2 separate regions of the Homo sapiens genome follow, and region 2 is linked to region 1. The links are contacts of gene promoters, found by promoter capture Hi-C in blood cells and fetal thymus (Javierre and others, 2016). All regions are on one chromosome and are shown on one strand. Each heading gives the region's core, a stretch centred on a gene start or on the middle of the fragment in contact. The rest is flanking DNA. Distances are from core to core; before and after follow the strand shown. Region 1 holds the start of FBXO31 (F-box protein 31). Region 2 has its middle 73 kb from the start of LINC02132.

The links. Contacts are between HindIII fragments. The CHiCAGO score rates a contact against its expected background, and 5 or more counts as called.
Region 2: a contact is called between a fragment that was not itself captured here and the fragment with the promoter of FBXO31 in region 1, in 1 of 17 cell types (M0 macrophages). The highest score is 5.4, in M0 macrophages.

What each region holds. Positions count from the first base shown.
Region 1 is chr16:87,382,263-87,385,858 of GRCh38, reverse strand. It overlaps FBXO31 (F-box protein 31), which reads left to right and starts at 2,083. Exons shown (of 9, transcript NM_024735.5): 1 at 2,083-2,454. The coding sequence starts at 2,115. It overlaps TRM-CAT6-1 (tRNA-Met (anticodon CAT) 6-1), which reads left to right and starts at 1,765; the gene lies at 1,765-1,837. LOC124903747 (a long non-coding RNA gene) reads right to left here and starts at 1,926. Exons shown (of 2, transcript XR_007065168.1): 1 at 1,663-1,926. RefSeq lists enhancers at 975-1,626, 1,627-2,280 and silencers at 1,688-2,347, 2,488-2,727. The HindIII fragment of the contact is 7,278 bases long and covers 1-3,596 here.
Region 2 is chr16:86,007,694-86,010,857 of GRCh38, reverse strand. No RefSeq gene overlaps it. Among named protein-coding and RNA genes, the nearest start is that of LINC02132, 73 kb to the right of the region's middle. RefSeq lists an enhancer at 1. The HindIII fragment of the contact is 1,698 bases long and covers 940-2,637 here.

The DNA.
Region 1 (3,596 bases), core at 834-3,333:
TTGCATTTTTTCAGTAGAGACAAGGTTTCACCATGTTGGCCAGGCTGATCTTGAACTCCCAACCTCAGGTGATCTGCCCGCCTTGGCCTCCCAAAGTTCTGGGATTACAGGTGTGAGCCACCAGGCCTGGCCGCTATCCTTTTTTTCTAGAACATTCTCCCATCAAGTGTTCTCCTCCTGGCTAACTCCAAATTTTCCTTTGATTTATAAATGTCATTTCCTCAAAGAACCTTTGATCATCCAAAGTCTGGTCTCTGCTATAAGATCTTGTTAGTTTTACTTATTGTTAGAGCATTACAATTTATAATTTATGTATTTATCTATGTGGTTACTTGTTTAATGGCTGATCTCCCTGGTAGATAGCAGGATGTTATTAGTTGAAACCATTTTTTTTTTTTTTTGAGACAGAGTCTTGCTCTGTCGCCCAGGCTGGAGTGCAGTGGCACGATCTTGGCTCACTGCAAGCTCTGCCTCCCGGGTTCACACCATTCTCCTGCCTCAGCCTCCCGAGTAGCTGGGACTACAGGCACCTGCCACCACACCTGGCTAATTTTTTGTATTTTTAGTAGAGACGGGGTTTCACCGTGTTAGCCAGGATGGTCTCAATCTCCTGACCTCATGATCTGCCCGCCTCGGCCTCCCAAAGTGCTGGGATTACAGGCGTGAGCCACCGCGCCCGGCCTAATTTTTTAAATTATTTGTAGAGATGGGGGCGTCTCACTATGTGGGTAGGCTGGTCTCCGACTCCTGGGCTTAACCGATCTACCCGCCTCGGCCTCCCAAAGTGCTAGAATTACAGGCGTGAGCCACTGCGCCTGGCCTGTGTGGTTTGTTTGTTTGTTTGTTTGAAGAGACAGGGTTTCACCATGTTGGTCAGGCGGGTCTCAAACTCCTGACCTCAGGTGATGCACCCTTCTCCGCCTCCCAAAGTGCTGGGATTACAGACGTGAGCCACCGCGCCCAGCCATTTGTGGCTATTTTTGTTTTTTGTTTGTTTTGGAGACAGGGTCACGCTGTGTTGCCCAGGCTGAAGTGCAGTGGCACCATCACGGGTCACTACAGCCTCGGCCTCCTGGGATCAAGCGATCCTCCCGTCTCAGCTTCTCTTTCTAAAATTTTGTTTTGTAGACAGGGTCTCGCTGTATTGCCCAGGCCGGTCTCGAGCTCCTGGCCTCGATTGATACTCCCGCCTGGGCCTCCAAGAGATGGGGTCCGAGGCGAGCCCACGGCGACGTGCGCGGCTGCTCAGGTGAGAGGACGCCTTCGCGGTCACCACCCGCGGACCTGGGAGACGACCCCGCTCAGCGGCCTCGGCGGAGCCCAGCTGGAGCAGGCGTGCGCGGCTCCCAGCAGCTGCAGGAACAGGCGCCCTTTGGGCGGCGCCGCATGGCAGGGCCTCCCTTTCCAGACCGGGCGCGCATCCCCGGATCTCTTGGGCCGCGCCGGCCGCCGCCCCTCCAAGCCCTCCCCGGGGCTTCCGCAGGGAGCTCGGGATCCCCGAAGGTCCCTGCAGAGCTCCGCAGCTCGGGCCTTTTGGTTACCATAAGGCGGAGACGATGGAACGCGCGTTGTTTCAATGGACAAAAGGGCTTCTAGGCGCCCTTTGGGGTTCTGGCTGCTGCCTCTGTATTTGGAGGCTGTAAGGCGCATCTTTCTACTCACCGGCCGGCGCGGCACAGTTTCGGGCGCCGGAAGCGGGACGCACGGGCGCGAGGGGCGACCCCTATCTCCACAAAAGCCGCGGCGCGAAGTGGTCGCCGAGCAGCCTCGTTAGCGCAGTAGGCAGCGCGTCAGTCTCATAATCTGAAGGTCGTGAGTTCGAGCCTCACACGGGGCAGTCTAACGTTTTGCACTCGGCATCACCACTTTCTTTTCTCATGCCCGTCACGGGCGGCGCCCTCACGCTGGAGGGGAGGGCAGCAGTGCGGGGTCTCTGAGGTCGCCGCCCCGCGGGGAGGGGGTGGCGCGGCCGGGGCGGAGCTCTACGTAGGGGCGGGGCTAGGCTCTCCAGGGGGCGTGGCGAGCTCTGCGGCGGGGGCGTGGCTCGGCGCTGGCGGGGCGGGGCCGCGCTGGAGCGTGCGCACAGGCGGCAGCAGTGGCCGTCACTGGGCGGCATGGCGGTGTGTGCTCGCCTTTGCGGCGTGGGCCCGTCGCGCGGATGTCGGCGCCGCCAGCAGCGCCGGGGCCCGGCCGAGACGGCGGCGGCCGACAGCGAGCCGGACACAGACCCCGAGGAGGAGCGCATCGAGGCTAGCGCCGGGGTCGGGGGCGGCTTGTGCGCGGGCCCCTCGCCGCCGCCCCCGCGCTGCTCGCTGCTGGAGCTGCCGCCCGAGCTGCTGGTGGAGATCTTCGCGTCGCTGCCGGGCACGGACCTACCCAGCTTGGCCCAGGTCTGCACGAAGTTCCGGCGCATCCTCCACACCGACACCATCTGGAGGAGGCGTTGCCGTGAGGGTGAGCGCGCGGGGGTGGCGGGGCCGGGAGGGGCGGGGGGTCCCTGCCAGGTGGAGGCCTCGGAGCTGGGAGTGGCGGGGGCGGTGGCCCCGGCCGGGGGCCACCAGTTGGGCGCGGGGCCCGGCGATGTGGTGTTTTGGGTGTGGGTGGGGAGCGGCCGCGGTGACACCACGTTGAGGGGGCCAGGGAGGTATTTGAGGCGGTTAGGGAGGGTCCGAGGGGTCCAAGAGAGGCAGACGGGGTAGGGAGGGGTTGAGGGCGTCAGGGAGGCATCGAAGAGGCCCTGACGCGGGGCACGGGACACCACGGGGCCGAGGCCGTGCCGGGAGCTGGGGCTGGGATCCCTCGAGGTCTGCGCGGGGCCTAAGCTGACGCCTGGGGGCCGCCTCCTCTGCCCCTGTCTTGAAGGCGAGCCGAGGGTGCCCCGCTGGCCCTGACCAGAGACGAGGTGAACTTGAAGAAATGGGAGCAGGCCGGGCGCGGTTTCACGCCTGTAATCTCAGCACTTAGGGAGGCCGAGGCGGGCGGGTCACCTGAGGTCAGGAGTTCGAGACCAGCCTGGTGAAGATGGTAAAACCCCGTCTCTACTTACAAAAATACAAAAATTAGCCGGGCGTGGTAGCGGGCGCCTGTAATCCCAGCTACTCGGGAGGGTGAGGCAGAAGAATGGCTTGAACCCGGGAGGCGGAGGTTGCACTGAGCCAACATCTGGGCCATTGCACTCCACCCTAGGCGACAGAGTGCGACTTGGTCTCAAACAACAGCAACAAAAAAAATTACGGGAGTAGGGGAAGCCCAGTGTCGGGGGCTCCTGATGGTGGGGGCGTAGAGAGACGGATGGATCACAGCGGTGCGGGCTGGACTTTTGCCTTCAGCAATATTGGATGTAACAGATCACAGGAGGAGATGTTTATTTAATCTGGAGTTCAAGGCTCTCTCTGTTTAAAGGTTGACAGCTCTTTGATGTTCAAGCAGCTCATATTTAGGTAAAAAGGACAGGTTAGAAAACATCCAAGCGATGCAGAACAGCAAAAGGAACAAAGTAAATACCATCAGAGACCCCAGCAGTCAAAAATAAACCACTCTTAACATTTTAAAAAACCTCTGAGTCGTGTGTACCTTCTTCCCTAAAGGATATAATG
Region 2 (3,164 bases), core at 539-3,038, 1.4 Mb after region 1:
ACCAAGAAGATGGGCCCCAAGCACCGAGATCAATGGAAAGCAGTCACTCCCAGGCATGGCCAGGTGCTGCTGCAGCCACAGCCTCCGTTCCAACAGGCACTCACTCTGTGGTCTTGGACAGGTGACTTCCCCTCTCTGTACCTCAATATCCTCATATGCAAAGTGGGGTTCTAGGTGCCAGACAGTGGGGTGGATCAAAACAGGGGCTTCAGAGCCAGACCACCAAGGCTCAGATCCGGGCTCTGGTGCTTCTCACTGAATGACCTTGACCAGGTTACTCAACCTCTCTGTGCCTCAGTTTTATCACCTGCAAAATAGGTATAAGAGTCCCCTATAATAGGCTTGTTATGAGGATTCGAGAGTTGCTGGAGGCAAGCACTTAATGAGCACTAGCTGGGGTTAACTACATCTAAAACAAAGGGATGAGAGACGTGACCTCCAAACTCCCTGCAGGTGTGTGAGTCTGCTACGAGACCCCCTACCCCGATTCTATTTCTACCTTCTTCTTTTATTTATTTATTTGTATTTTTATTTTTTTATTTTCCTTTATGTTCTGGGATACATGGGCAGAACGTCGAGCTTTGTTACATAGGTGTACATGTGCCATGGAGGTTTGCTGCACCCATCAACCCGTCATCTAGGTTTTAAGCCCTGCATGCATTACGTATTTGTCCTAATGCTCTCCCTCCCCTTGTCCCCCACCCCCTGATAGGCCCCAGTGTGTGGTGTTCCCCTCCCTGTGTCCATGTGTTCTCACTGTTCAACTCCCACTTATGAGTGAGAACATGCGGTGTTTGGTTTTCTGTTCCTGTGTTACTTTGCTGAGGATGATGGTTTCCTGCATGCAACTCAGAACCTGGCTTCACTAGAAACGCCACTAAAAACACATCCGGACAGCCAATCTGCAGCTTCTCCATGGCCAGCTAGCATCAGCAAGCTTAACCTTAATGAAGACACCTTAACAAATAAGGTGTCCAGACAGGGCCTTCACCAAGCCCCTTCTCCTTGACTATCCACTTAGGATATGATTTCTTCCATGCCCTCTTTTCTAAAGTGCATGAGAAAATGTTGGTGAACTTGAAGACAATAGAAAGAGACACGATCTGAATAATACACAGAGAGAATAAAGACTGAAAGCAATGGGGCAGGCACAGTGGCTCACGCCTGTAATCCCAGCATTTTGGGGGGCCATGGTGGGAGGATAGCTTGAGCCCAGGAGTTCGAGACTAGCCTGGGCAACATAGTGAGACCCTATCTCTACAAAAACTAGAAAAATTAGCCAAACATGGTGGTGTGCACCGACAGTCCCAGCTACTCAGAGGGCTGAAGTGGGAGGCTTGAGCCTGGGAGGTTGATGCTGCGGTGAGCCGTAGTTGTGCCACTGTACTCCAGCCTGAGCAACAGAGTGAGACCTTGTCTAAGGGAAAAAAAAAAAAAAACAAGGCTGAAAAACGTGAGCAGATCATCTGTGAGGTGTGGGACATCAAGCACCCTAACATATGTGTCATTGGAGGCCCTTAGGATGGGGAGGAGGGTATAGAAAAAAATGCTTAAAGAAATGTCTAAAAAATACCTAAATTTGCCCGTAATCCCAGCACTTGGGAAGCCGAGGAGGGCGGATCACGAGGTCAGGAGATCGAGACCATCCTGGCTCACATGGTGAAACCCCATCTCTACTAAAAATACAAAAAAATTAGCTGGGCGTGGTGGTGGGCGCCTGTAGTCCCAGCCACTCAGGAGGCTGAGGCAGGAGAATGGTGTGAACCCAGGAGGCGGAGCTTGCAGTGAGCCGAGATGGCGCCACTGCACTCCAGCCTGGGCGACAGAGCGAGACTTCATCTCAAAAAAAAAAAAAAAAAAGAACCCTAAATGTAATGAAAACTCAGCACCCACAGATCTAAGAAGCTCCACAAATATCAAGCAGAAGAAATGAAAAAAACCACAAGGCCATGATAATCAAATTACTCAAAACTAGTGATCAAGATGAAATCTTAAAGGCAACCAGAGGGGGAAAAAATATTAGGTAAAGAGGAACAAAGGTAAGAAGGAAAGACTTCTTATACTATATGGGAAGCAGTGGAAGAACATTTGAGAGTAAGCTGTGATAAGTTAGATATGCATACAACAAACCACTAAAATAACACAGCAGAGTTAAAGCTAATAAGCCAGCAATGGAGATAAGTGTACCATTAAAATAATATTCCATCTAAAAGAAGGCAGAAAGAAAAAGGAACAAAGAACAGTAGAGACAAATAGAAAATATCTTCCAGATTGGTAGATTGAAACTCAACCATGTCAACAATTATATTAAAATAAATGACCTAAACACTGAAAAAGCAGATATTGTGAGACTGAATAAAAATGCAGGACCCAGCTTTAGTCTGACTATCAGAAACTCACTTTAAATATGTATAGAAACAAATAGGTTAAAAGTGCCACAGGCAGGTGGGGAGGGCCAGGAGAGACACAGCGTTATGCTAACACCGCAGACAGCAGGAGTGGCCGTATTAATATCTGACAAAGTAAATTTTATAGCAAGAATATGACCAGGGAGAAAGGGCCATTTCATAAAGATTAAGGGGTCTATTCATTAAGAGGCCATATGAGCCTATGTATTATCCACCTAATAACAAAGCTTTGAAATACATGACTGAACTGCAAAGAAAACTGGCACTTTCACAACTATTGTCAGAGTGTTCAGCACCCCTCTCTCAGTAATTTACAGAATAACAAAAATAAGCAAGGATACAGAAGACCTAAACACCACTATCACACAATGCGATCTACCAGCATTCATACAACACTCCATCCAACAATAGCATAACACACATTCTTTGAAAGTGCATGCAGAATGTTTACCAAAGTAAACAATATTTGAGTCATGAAACAAGTTTTAATAAACTCAAAATAATTTAAGTCATACGATGTATTTTCTTTGACCACAACGAAATTAAAATGTTTGATAACAAAATGATCTCCAGAAAAATCTAAGATTTAGAATGCAATTAACACACTTCTAAATAACATATGGGTCAAATGAAAAATGAAAATAGGAGTTAGAAAGTATGTTAAAGAGAATGAAAATGAAAACACAGCGTATCATAATCTGAGTAATGATACTGAGGCAGAACTTCAAGGGAAATGTAGAGCATCCAACCCATCTA